Linked DNA regions of Homo sapiens: region 1 is linked to region 2. The links are contacts of gene promoters, found by promoter capture Hi-C in blood cells and fetal thymus (Javierre and others, 2016). All regions are on one chromosome and are shown on one strand. Each heading gives the region's core, a stretch centred on a gene start or on the middle of the fragment in contact. The rest is flanking DNA. Distances are from core to core; before and after follow the strand shown.

What was found. The method cuts DNA at HindIII sites, captures the fragments that hold promoters and counts their contacts. A CHiCAGO score of 5 or more calls a contact.
Region 1: a fragment that was not itself captured here is called in contact with the fragment with the promoter of TNFSF4 in region 2 in 1 of 17 cell types (megakaryocytes); the score reaches 6.0 in megakaryocytes.

Annotation. Positions count from the first base shown.
Region 1 is chr1:173,418,226-173,424,759 of GRCh38, reverse strand. PRDX6-AS1 (PRDX6 antisense RNA 1) reads left to right here. Exons shown (of 2, transcript NR_125960.1): 2 at 6,138-6,534. The region is part of intron 2 of LOC100506023 (a long non-coding RNA gene); the gene reads left to right. It also overlaps a transcript of TNFSF4 not described here. Among named protein-coding and RNA genes, the nearest start is that of PRDX6-AS1, 40 kb to the left of the region's middle. RefSeq lists enhancers at 4,381-4,480, 6,239-6,534. The HindIII fragment of the contact is 1,332 bases long and covers 3,180-4,511 here.
Region 2 is chr1:173,202,313-173,209,157 of GRCh38, reverse strand. It overlaps TNFSF4 (TNF superfamily member 4), which reads left to right and starts at 1,827. Exons shown (of 3, transcript NM_003326.5): 1 at 1,827-2,134. The coding sequence starts at 1,982. RefSeq lists an enhancer at 1,836-1,895. The HindIII fragment of the contact is 1,344 bases long and covers 1,092-2,435 here.

The sequences.
Region 1 (6,534 bases), core at 2,596-5,095, 210 kb before region 2:
TTCATCCACATTTGCAACTTCATTTTCCATTCTTTTCTTTTTATCTTAATGTTGCAGTAAAACCAAATTCCTCACTCTTTTTTGTGGGACCTGGAACTTTTCCACCTTTATATCTTTTCTCATGTGGTTCCCTCTGCCTAGAATGGCCCAGAACCTATCTTAAGCCGTGAAAATTGTACCCTTGAAAATCCAGCATCAACAGCATTGCTTCCAGGAAGGGAACAGACAGTTTCTCTCTGGCTTTAATGCACCCCTTTCATAAGAACTCATAGAATCACATTGGGCCCACCGGCCCACAAAGATCCCTACTTTGAAGTGATAAGCACTAGTAGCAGCTCATAGCTTGTTTATGGCTGTTTCCAGTTTGTGCCTTTCGTTATAGATAGTCATGCATAGGTCTTCCTCTTTTAGTGAACACATTGTTCACGAGGGAAGAGCTGTGTTTGATTCATCTTTATGCTTCCCATAGAGTCTTGCCCATGAGAAGCACTCAAAATACGTGTGGACTAAAGAAGCAAGTAAAGAGAAGAAATACTTTGTCTAGAATTGCCTATTTCTTTCTGGTGTGGTCTGAATGTGTTCCCCCAAGTTCATATGTTAAAACTTAATCACCAATGTGATAGTATTAAGACGACAGGCCTAAGTCCTGAGAGCAGAGCCTTCCTGGATGGAATTAGGGTCCTTACAAAAGAGCTTGAGGGAGTGTTTGTTCTTTTCTGTTCTTCTGCCATGAGGATACAGCATTCACCCCCCTTTTTGCCCTTCTGTCCCTCCCACCATGTCAGGACACAGTGCGTAAGGTACCTCCTTGGAAGCAGAGACCAGGCCGTTTCCAGCCACCAAACCTGCTGGCACCTTGATCTTGGATTTCCCAGCCTCCAGAACTGTGAGAAATAAATTTTTTATTGTTTACAAATTACCCAGTCTCAGGTATTTTGTTACAGTGGCATAAACAGATGAAGACACTCTCTAATTATAAAGGAATTGCCAAGGATAATATTAAAGGCAGACATAGAAGATAGGCATAGTTTTGGTTCACTTTGCTTCCGTGTCTTTGTACAAATTGTTACTTCTCCATCACCGGTGGGATGTTCTCCTTCCTACCCCATATGCTTCCACCAGTTCACAGCTACCAGTTTCTTCAAGACCTGGCTCAAAGCCTAGTCCTTCCTAGGGGACTTCTTTCCTGAGTCCAGACCACTGCAGTTGCCCCTTTATCCAGTGGTCACAAGGCATCCACACAGGCTGACAGTTGCTACCTGATCATCATCACCAGTCATCAAGCTGTTATTGCATACTTGGTATATGAAAGGCTCTATGTCATGTGCTGTGGGGGAGGGAGGGAGAGCTTTGCAGAGGAAGTGGGATTCAAGCAGGGTCTTGAAGGCTGTGTTTTAATTAAAGAGGTGGAAAAGAAGGGGAATAAAATAATGGACAACATTGAAGATCAACTTCTACTCTTCTTGTTATTGGCTATATAATTTTGAGAAAAATCTTTTAATCCCTGTGGAAATCCATTTTCTCATATGTAAGGTGGGAGTAATAAAATCTATTATTTTAGATTTAGGGAGGGTGCTTATGAGGATCAATGTGAAAGCCCCATGTATTGGTGAGAATGAATTTATTTGCAAGTGATATTAATAACTTAATTAAGATATAACATGTAAGGAGGCTGAGGCAGGAGAATCGCTTGAACCTGGGAGGCGGAGGTTGCAGTAAGCCGAGATCTCACCGCTGCACTCCAGTGTGGGCAACAGAGCGAGACTCTGTCTAAAAAAAAAAAAATGTACATATATATATGTATGTAACATGTAACATCTCTTCAGTGGTTAACATGAAGCTGACAAACCTCCTTTCTCCACGACATCAACTCTCTCATCTGGTGGTGTCCACCGTCTTACTCCTGTTGGTTGAAGATGGAAGAAGTCTTGCATTTGTACTTCCTTGTGCAGGGGCCCACATATGGGTGTTCCGTCATTCCAGTAACTTTACATTGCTTGGTAATTGACTGGTTTTCCAAAGAGAAGGGAACTGAATTGTCTCCCCCTCCTCTGCACACACTTTGTTGTTTTAAGTCTGCACCTTTGCTTGCTGTTGCCTCCACTGCTTGGAATGCGCCATCTTCTCAGCCTCAGCCTGGTCAGCAGTTACTGGGTCAGTAAGAGTCAGCTGAGGTCTCACTCTGTGAAGTTTCCCTGACCTCATTTTGACCTCCTAGACTGGCCAAGGTTCCCCTTTTCTGTACTCCCATGCCGTACTGGGTATTGCTCTCTCCAGTGCACAGTTATCACACCATACTACAAAGACCTGCCTCTCTCACTGGGCTCTCCATCCCTTTAAGGCTGGCACATAGCACTCACTCATGACATGGTTGTTGAATGAATGAATGGCCTTCCTCCATTCTCTCCCAGTCCTTTTTTTTTTTTTTTTTTTCACTCTGGGCACCACCATTCCTTCTCTCTCATTCTGCATTGTTTATGGCTTGTTAGTTATTAATGCAAAGCCATTTCTGGGTCTCTAGACCCATTGGTAATGGCCATTGGTAATGTCTCTAGGTGTTAATAATAACACTAGCTCACATCTACTGAGCACTTACTATTTGGCTGGCACTGTTCTAAGCACTTTGCATGTTTAAACTCCTTTAAACGTTCCTTTGTTGCCGCTTTTTTTTCTGCTAGGGACTAACCTTGACATTGTGGGGGAGAGGTGTTCTCGTATAGCTGTGGGACTGTAACATGGCTTTATTTTCCTATTATGTGCAGGACAGTAAATCCTGCAGAGGAATACAAGTTGACTAGGTCTGTCATCACTCAAATACTGGAAGATATGGCTGGGAAAAAACCAACAACAAAAAGTTTTGATATCCTCATAGTGCAATGACATTACAGTTTTATTTTGTTTTGTTTTTTTCTTTATGCGTAGTTCTAAATTACTGTATTATGTTTCAGGTAATTAAGCCAGAAGAACAAATTGGGATGGACTGTTGTATTTACATTTCAGTTTACTAGAGGTAGCCTTGAAATAGTTACAAAAATATGAATATCAGTGGGGAAAAAAATAAGGGGGATTTTCATTTTTTTTTTTCCAGAAACGATAAATTGGCAAGGAAGACAGATACGGGAAAATCAGTCATGAGAATTTGTCTTTCAGTGACTCTTTCTTGGCTGGGAAGAAAAGCTTTTCTTCTATTTAGTTGAGAACAGTGACAAGGATTATTTTACTTGAGGATGGCAGATTATTTTACCAGCAGCTGGCAGATGAGAATAATTCCCTAGACAACAAGGAGGGGCAGTATGGTAGGGAGGGAACCCGGTTCGGAGGGTCTGGGGTTCACAGCTCCACAGTGCTGCTTACCAGCTCTTAGCCTTCATTACATTGCTTACCTTCCTGGAGGTTCAGTTTCCTTATCCATAAAATGGGGGTCAGGTTGCCAAATTTATCAAATAAGAATCTAGGATGTCCAGTTAAAGCTGAATTTCAGATAAATAATTATTTTTTAGTGTAAATATGTCCCATAAAATATTTATGTCCCATGCAATAACTATGTCCCTAATGGTGCGTGGGACATATGCTAAAACATTATTTGTTGTTTATCTGAAATTCAAATTTAACTGTGCGGCCTATATTTTTTCTGGCAACCCTAAATGCGGGCAGGGGCAGTGGTGGTGACATGTAGGGATGGTGTGAGGATAAAATAATACCACAGTTAGGTTTTATCGCAGTGTGTAGTCTGTGTGTAGTCAACACATAACTATAAGTAGTGACTGTAACATAACTGTAACTGGTGCATAGTAAAAAACAAATGGATATTATTAGTATAATAGTTGTTATTAATAAAGGTCTTTAAATGACAATTGGCCATACAGGAGCCTTTGGGGAAAAGTTTCTGACTCTAAATTAAGGGAAGGTAAATTATGATCAAGATCTGGGAATAAGATTTAGACTTACACAGTAATAATTTGAGGAAGAGAAAGACTTAGTAAATTAGTTATGTAATTACATAATTAACAACTTGGGAGGTTTTCTTTACACGTTTATTCCCTAGGGCATCATCTTTAAATTATATTTAGTTTTTGCTAAGTTGACCAGTTTGTGGTTTTAAGTGTTTACTTTCTTTTCTTTTGAAATGTAGGGAAAGCATATTTGACATCATCTTAAAGAAATTATGTAGCCATATAAAACCGGAGGGTAGGGTCTACTGGCCAGGAAAAAAAAAGGCCTTTACTGCCACCTGGTGGCCATATTCTTTAACTGCAATGTGCCTAAGTGAGGCTGGAAAGGAAAGCGTTGGAAAACATGCTAAACCCAGAGGGCACCAAGGCCGCGTCATGACAGTAAGAGCCGTCAAGTACTGTGTCCTTTCCCTCAGTTCTCAATCTCTCACAGCTTGAGGCTTGAGAATTAGCAGCTGGCTACGAGAGGTGGAGGAGAGAAAATGGTGAAGTCCATGCCTTCCTCCTTGGTACCGAGTTTCCAAACCTGAAGTGAAGGAGTCTGAGAGGGGAGAAGCTTCAGGTTGAGTAGACTGTTTTTTACTTTTTTTTTTGTTTGTTTGTTTTAAAGAGCCTCTTTATTTAATGGCTCAGAGTGGCTAGAAAATCCGTGGTATTGGTTAGCTTTCATCTCAAGTGCAGGGACAAGGCAAATCCAGAGAGAGGAGTTGAAAGGACAAAGAAAAAAGAAAAAAAATTGCTTTTTACGTGCATTTTGCTGCATGCAGCTCACTCAATAAACATGCGTTAAATGCATAAATATATCATGAGGTAAAAATCGGGGGAAAGGTGATGCATTGATGCTGATAGAGGACAGGCAAACTGCATTCCATTTGGACCGCAGCCTCTCATCCCCCCCCCCGCCACACAAACTAAGGTCAAAATCAGGGAGGGAGTCCAGGGTAAAGTTATCAGTAGAGTCAGCTCTAGGAGCTATAGTTAATCTATTTTAAAAAATCTTAAAAAACCCATAAGTCCATTATAGCAGGGACATAAAGCAGTCCTAGCCTCCTGACCCTGACCCAGCCATGGCAATCAGGGCTGCTTCCTTTTATTCTCCCTTGTGTCCTCATGGGTCTTTCCAAGCCCTGCAGGGAAGGGTGGAAGCTGGTTCCATCAGTGCCTCTCCCCCAGCTTCCACCCTCCTCTCTCTTCTGTGACCTCTCAGTTTTCCTTCTCTGTACCCCAAATCATGCCTGTCTTAGTCCATTGCTGTAACAGAATTCTACAGACTGGATCATTTATAAAGACAAGAAATTTATTGCTTATAGTTCTGGAGGCTGGGAAGTCCAAGCACATGGTGCTGGCATTTGGTGAAGGCCTTCTTGCTGCATCCTCACGTGGCAGAGGGCATCACATGGCAAGTGGGCAAGAGCAGGCTTGTCCGCTTGGGTTACTCTAACTCTTCTTTTTTTTTTTTTTTTCTGAGACGGAGTCTTGCTCTGTCACCCAGGCTGGAGTGCAGTGGTGTGATCTCAGCTCCCTGCAAGCTCCGCCTCCCAGGTTCAGGCCACTCTCCTGCCTCAGCCTCCCAAGTAGCTGGGACTACAGGTGCCCGCCACCACACCCGGCTAATTTTTTTGTATTTTTTTGGTAGAGATGGGGTTTCACCGTGTTAGCCAGGATGGTCTCGATCTCCTGACCTCGTGATCTGCCCGCCTTGGCCTCCCAAAGTGCTGGGATTACAGGCGTGAGCCACAGCACCCGGCCAGGTTACTCTAACTCTTCTTATAAAGCCACCAGCCCCACCGTGGGGGCCACACACTCATGGCCTTATTTAATCTTAATTACCTCTCAAAGGCCCTACCTCCAAATGTCATCGATATGTGAATTTGGGAATTAAGTTTCCAGCACATGAAATTTGGGGGTCACATTCAAACCATAGCAATGCTTAACCTTAGAATACTGCCTGGCATCTGCCCAGGCTTCCACAGCCACTACCTCTGGGACATGTTGGGATCTCTGTTTACATGTAAGGCTCGCCATGACCATTACACATCTGTGAGTCAGTGTAGGGTCCTGGTGGAAGCCCGGTCTTGGAGTCCCTCCATTATGTTTGCTACCCTGGCTCTCCACCTTCAATTTCTGGCTTCTCATTTTGGACTATGATGATTTTCTTGTTGTTAATTTTTTTTTTTTTTTTAGTATGAAAGTTTTCAAGACGCCTACAAGTGGAAAATGCACTCCTCCCAGCCAAATCAAGCTTCGCCAGATTCCTTACAGCTGTGTGCAGTGAAATGACTAATGAAAGAGCCCTCTGCTGCTGGTGGAACTTTCACATATGGCACTGTTATGCCACTCAGCAGGACCCGACCCTGGTATTTACATATTGGATGTCACCCCAAAAGCCCCTGACCAGGGGGTTTCCGGGATGTAATAAGAATGCCACTCTGGGCTTTGGAAGGTGCACCGTATGCACACCCATACTATAGGGCAGGGGTTAGCATTTCAGACCCCTGTTCCTCCCTTGACAAGCAAGTGCTTTTCTCCAGGGAAGACGTTCAGGTTCATTCATAGATCCATTGGTGCCGTGGGCAGCTCA
Region 2 (6,845 bases), core at 578-3,077:
TTACAACTAGGCAAAATATGGTAGTAGGACGACAAGACAATAAAAATGAGAGGTGTGTCATCCAAGTGTTAGCCTAAATGTGGGTAGAGATGACTCTGTGCAAAGATTTTTCTTTCTCGGAGCCATGATATTAACACTGAGAAGAAATGCTGCTTAAGGTACAAGTATGTGCATGGTAAATGTTTATTTTTTTCATTCTTTTGACAGTAATTTAAAAATGTTATCTACGATTTTCAGCATGAATAGTTTTTACTACTTTTTCAGCTTATTTCTAGTTTCCAATAGTATTTATGGCTTTTTTTTTTTTTGCTGTGACTCTTAGTCATTTTTTGAAAATTGACGAGTAAATAGTTACTGATTTTAATACTCTTTTATGAAGAACTATTACACAAGAATTGGGCTTTACACACTGATTTTTCCTTCAGCTTTTTTCTCCACACCCTGTATGTAACACAAGCTTTGTTCAAGGGAATAACTATGACAAATATGTTTGGATACAATTTGATTTCTAGTTTTGGCTTGGAGTCTATGATATTGTGCCTTAGTTACCTTATCTTTCAGATAAAACTTAAATTTCTCAACACCAGTATGTTCTCCTAATGCAAGGCATAATTATTGTAGTGAAGGTATTAATTCATATTTTAATTGATTAATACTGTAGTCATAAATGTACTTTACATTTCCCACAAACTTTCTCTTTTAAGTATGCCTCATTTCCATTTTTTCTGTGAAGTGGTATAACAACTCATACTGTCAATATCCAAAATATTTCTCCCTCCTTTCTTTACATATCTGCTGGGTGCCTCATGGGGAGCTGAGAGAGACATACTTGGCCACAAAGAGAGACAATTCCGTCTTAAACAGCTTTTCCCCAGCATCCTTATGTTGTCCAGTACAGTGCCAGGCTCATGTGATGTACTCAGTAAATATTTGCCCATTTGAACTTTACATTATAAGTAATTTTATCATTTATTTCATTTCATTGTTTATTTTAGTGGTAAAGGGTACCTGGTGTCTATTGATAGAATACTCTTACTTTCCAAGTTCTGAGGCCAGCCACGACCTCAAAGAAAGAAATAATCTTCAAAGCTTATTTACATCTATTCATTTGTTCATTCATGGAAAAATTATGTACGGGAAAAATGTGAAGTGGAAGGAAAGGAGACAAGGATACCCTTCTGCTTCTTTTCTGGTATGCAGAAAATTAATCATATAATTGTTTATTGAATTTGCCTCAAAGGGTTAAATGAGAGAAAGATTGCAAGTCCATCTAACACAGTGTCTGACACATAGTAAATGCTTCCAAAAGGTAGTTTATTTTTATGCAATAGACTACAACCAAGGATCTCTCCTTTACTTCTGCATGACCCAGTGTCCTATTTTCTTGTTTTGTCTTTTTCATTCAAGAATGATCTGTGTGTGCTTTCTTTCTGAATCTGTGAGAGGGGTTCAATGTTTAGTTACATAGTAAAGTGCAGATAAGAACCTTGGGCCAGCATTTCCCCTAAATCTTTTCTATGATTTAAGACACCTTGGGGAAGGGATATATGAGCTGCTACATTAACGGATGATGATTTTTATCTTTACCAAGTGACCCACAATTTGTTACTGGTGCAATAAGTTAAGAAAATAGCATACTTTTATGACTGTCATTTCACAGTCACTCAAATCAGAACTGGAATGTCACAAAAACAACTCCCTGTTAGCCCAGAGGAAAAAAAAAAAGAAAGAAAGTAAAGGGGAAATTCAGATTAGTCACAAAGAAGTTCCCCCGCCTGCCTGCAAAAGTTGCAGCGTTAAAACTGAGAGAGTCCGCTTTGCTCTTTCAATCGCCTTTTATCTCTGGCCCTGGGACCTTTGCCTATTTTCTGATTGATAGGCTTTGTTTTGTCTTTACCTCCTTCTTTCTGGGGAAAACTTCAGTTTTATCGCACGTTCCCCTTTTCCATATCTTCATCTTCCCTCTACCCAGATTGTGAAGATGGAAAGGGTCCAACCCCTGGAAGAGAATGTGGGAAATGCAGCCAGGCCAAGATTCGAGAGGAACAAGCTATTGCTGGTGGCCTCTGTAATTCAGGGACTGGGGCTGCTCCTGTGCTTCACCTACATCTGCCTGCACTTCTCTGCTCTTCAGGTAAGATGCACCACTGGGCGCTGTTTTCCCACCAGCTCATGCTGATGGCAGCTGCAACAGCTGCAAACAGTCGCTTGGAAATAATCTTATGCCAAAAGTGTTGAGTTTTTTTTCCCTCTCCCCACAGCAATCGTAAAGTGTGGTTAAACGCCCTTCTGTCTCTCCTTTCCTTCCTTCTTTTCAGCAGTGGCAGTGGTAGGGCAGAGTGGAGGTAGGGCAGAGGCACAGCTTCTAGATCTTTTTCTTTTTCTTTGCAATGCAAGATTCCTTGTATCCCTTTATAAGCTGTCACTTTGAAGCTTTGAGTCACTGATATACCTGGTCTACCCATTGTGATAGTAATGTGTTTGATCAGGCAATTAATATTAAAAGGAAATAGGAAAGAGACCAGTTCCACTTTCCCATAATATTCATATACCCTATAGACCTGCAAGGTGATTTTCTTTGTAAAGAATGCTGAAGGTATCAATATTAATAGCGGAGCAATGTGTGCGTGCATGTGTGTGTGCCTATGTGCTCACTCATTCACCCCAATGATTTAATCAGATATTGTTTCTCACAATCTATCTCTTCCAGTCATAATTTAAAGACATCATTTCACCTTTTCCCTACCTTATTAAATACATCATGTAGTAGGAGATTATCCTTCTAGTATTTTCCCCATATAGTTAAAATATTTCCATTTTTCTTTCACTTTATTCTTGTTCCACACTTCTCTCTTTTGCATTATTTTTTCTTATTCAGTAGTTCAGATATACAAACATTATTAGGTATTTAAGGATGTTCTTCACTGCAGAAGATGCCACTGGAGAAAAATAAATCTATACTCTCTTCGTGTTCCTTTGTTGAGCTAGTCTGATAATCTTGTTTTCTAGGTGGTTGCTTTGGGTTAGAAATGTTTCTCCCTGATAAAGTTCAGGTAATACAAACTGATTTCTGATGGTCTTGTCTGAGATTAAGCACCTCCAATGAAACCAGAATGAGATGAGCAGTCTTGGCAAATGCCTGGGCTTGTTTCTGCCTACAGGAAATAGGGTTTTCAGTGCATGGAGGCTGGTAAGAGTGTGTGTGGTTATGATCACTGTACCACAGACAGTGCTTGTGTCTCCAAATTCCAGAAGTGTAGCTAGTGTCATGCTCAGGTCTGCAGAACAGTGAGCACAACAACACATTGATCCTCTCCTCATCACACCACACTCTTATGTCTTCTCGCAGAACTCTTTGGGTGAAATTAAAGTAGGCGACTCGGGGAGAGGGTGTGGGGGAAGAGTAAGGTGTCCATGGCAGGATGCCCAAGACATCGACCGGATGCCCAAGACATCAACCGGAATTAGGCTCTTTTGAGAAGAAAACAAAGAGAGTAACCAAATATAGAACAGCTGAGTGCATTCACCAGTCTGGGAGCCCTGAGAGTGCTTTTTCTAACAACCACAGTGTTACATATTTCCTTACACCATGGGATGATAAAACACAGGACACATGGCTCCATTCAAGGCTAACTGATTGCACAACGGCTCTGAGCAGGAGAGAGCAAAAGGTGAACCACAGTTGTACAGCTTGCTGGTGGTTGGGGTCACATTGGACTATCAATATCCAGGAGATGTTGAGAAAAAGAGGGGATCCTTTCCAACAAGTCATCCAGCAACTCTGGGACAGAAGGAAAGCTGTGGGAAGAAAAGCAGGGTGCTGGTTTCTAGGACACTAAACCTCATGGTGAGTGATCTCTAGGGGAGAATTAGCTTCTATAGTCCTGGCACAGAGATGGAAGCAAGACATAGGTGGTATATTTGAGTTGTTTGCTTAAGAAACATGCCCTGTCTACTCTGAAAATAGATTTCTTTTTTTTGCTCAGGATATTTGAAGTTCTTCACTTGATGTTAATTATAATTTTTTTATTTCTAATTAGCTAATGTAATTTCTTATATTGTTATAGGATCTGGGACAGCACAATGGGTCCTTACATTTAATCTTATATTTATTATTTACACTTCATTATGAGAAGGATAGCATAGATGGGTTGTGTGTGTTTTCCCTAGAACCTGATAGTTTACCAAATAATGTTGGTGGCAGTGATAGCAGCAGTGTGTGTGTGTGTGTGTTTGTGTGTGTGTGTGTGTGTGTTTCTGTGTGTTTGAGAGAGAGAGAGAAACAGAGACAGAGAGATTGAGAGAGAACATTGTAGAGCAGCTGCTGACAAAGAGACATAGACTAGTAGCCATTTAAAACTCATCTACAATACTGTTTGGAAGTTTGATTGAGGGATCGGGTGGTGGTGGTGGTGGTGGTGTTGGTAGTGATGAGGCAAGTCAAACCTCTATTTTATAAGACATAATGTTACAGTGATGTGTATTGGAGGTGAAATAGAGCTGAAATGCTCACCATTTACCCAGTTAAATTGGACCTCTTTTATTGTGAGAGAAAGGTTTTTGGGAAATAATTGTGATTTTCCCTTTTATTTCTTAGATTTAATTTTTTAGCCTTATAAAATAATTGCCTACATGAATGGCTCTGTAAATACAGATATAGCTACCAAGCTCCATTTGGCCGTCAGCTTTCCTTTCAATCAAGTTTATTTAGTAGCCTCTGTTTTCTCATCACTGGGTTAGGTCTATCTACATGCAGGAAATGCAGAATATTTTGTTTTTAAGATGCTAGAAAAAAAGTTAGACCCTACCCACTCCTCATCTAATTTACTTTCCTCTTTGAGCCTTGATTTTTATAATCTGTATTATGAGAAAGTAGGATCAAATGATCAATAAGATGTCTTCCAGCTCAATATCTTATGAGTATATAGTTTATATATTCATAGAATGGATATAAGGATTTGAGAAATACAAAATGTGAGTTAGTATATTTGTGTTTAAGCTTATGGATTTCCTGGCTCCTAAGAAGGGATTGAGGGGAATCAAATTTGCACATATGTACTTTTCTATACTTAAGTTATATATTCTGTACATATCTAAATAACCTATTCTGGATTAGCAAAACACACTGTTTAGAAAAGGGAAAGAAGTGAATGCCCTGTAAGAATATTCATGACATAAGGTATATAATTCAGTGCTTCTGTCACCAAAACCAATACACACTGTTTGGATATTACATTGGGACATCCACTTAAATTGTCAGGCTTCCAGTCTTACCTGGAACTTCAGCTATGGAACAAAGGCAGAAAAAGCTGACCTATAAGGTGTGAGAAACCTCACTGAAACCATTGAAACTTGGCTTTTCCAAGATTCATATCACCTTTATCATCATGCTCAAAGACCTGAAGGCTTTTAGTGATTTTTTTCAGCAATTCCTACTTATCACTTTTTTTCAGTTCTTATCACTTTTTTTTCAGCTGGGAACAACAGAAGTAGAGATACTTAGAAAGTGAGTTGACCAGTTCTGTATCAGTGAAAGCTGGAATTAGAATTCACAGTTTCTTAATGAAGTTTCGGGCTACAACTTGGACCTTTCTTTGTATCATTTAATAAGAGAAAGAGGAGTTTGCCTGAAAAAAATATTGTTTCAGATTAGCTTAATTTAAATGTCTCCATGTCATTTAGAAAGTTTTTAGAAGTTCTTTTTTAACAATAGACCTGCAAATAAGATAATTTCAAAGGCATTTGAATTTGCTTTTCATAAGCAAATCTTTGAGAATTAAAAAATTAACATCTGAAGTTGACTTGGCTTGTCATAAGGCATTTTGAGGCTTCTAAAGGAGGTATTAAACATATAGAATCATTGAATTTGGGGGCAGGTATTAGATATAGTCTATTTACAGATAAGAAAACAGAAACCTAGAGAGGGTAGGTGAACCATTCGTGACCACTTAGCTGGTTAATTCACCAGAACTCCTGATTCCTACACTATGGTTCTTCTTATTATCAATGAAACCATCCTTACACAGATTTTTTTCCATTGAGTGTTTACTTGTGCTAGGTACCATTTGAGGCACTGGCGATATAAACATCCATTGGAGAAGGTTTTTGAACTATTTACACTCACAGTCAAGATGCAGGGTGGGGACAAAAGAGTGACATGCTCAAGGGACAATGGGAAGATGAGAGGAGGGAGGAGGGAGGGCTGCCTCAGCCTTCTGGGGAGTCAGGAAAACCTGCAGGAGGAGATAATGCTTCAGCTAATACTAGAAGGAGGAGGATAAATTATTTAAGCAGACAAGCGGATGGGAATTGGTGGGTAGGGGTAGAAGGCTTACTAGGCAGAACAGCAAGTTTTTCTGAATAGCTCAAGTTGAGTGTTCCTGTGGGAAAGTGGTGGAGATGAAGCTGAAAAGCTGGGGAGGTGGGGAGCAGTTCACAAAGGATCTTGTGAATCATGCTAAAGGAACACGCTTCATTCTCTCCTACGCCAAAGGAAATACAGGAAAAATTACCAACATTGTTACCTCTCCAAATTTTGCTTCTCTTGTGTAGTCTGTATTTTGGCAAATATAGAAAGTGAGTCTAATCTGAACAGCACTAGGGGGCACCACAGTAAAAGTAACGATTCTCTTGTGTCTGAAGACAGCTTATCCTCTTTTCCTGAAGAGTTGATTAGAAAACTTCTCAGGCAGTCAAGTGCTCATCCACAAATAAGAGAATGAACAATATCAGGGGCAGCTAATATTATTCACTATTTGCAGAGTGATGATATTTTCTAAATGAAGTGTTTAGATATATGTTTTGATCTGGGTATTCAAAATAGGACAGAATAATTTGGATGGGGA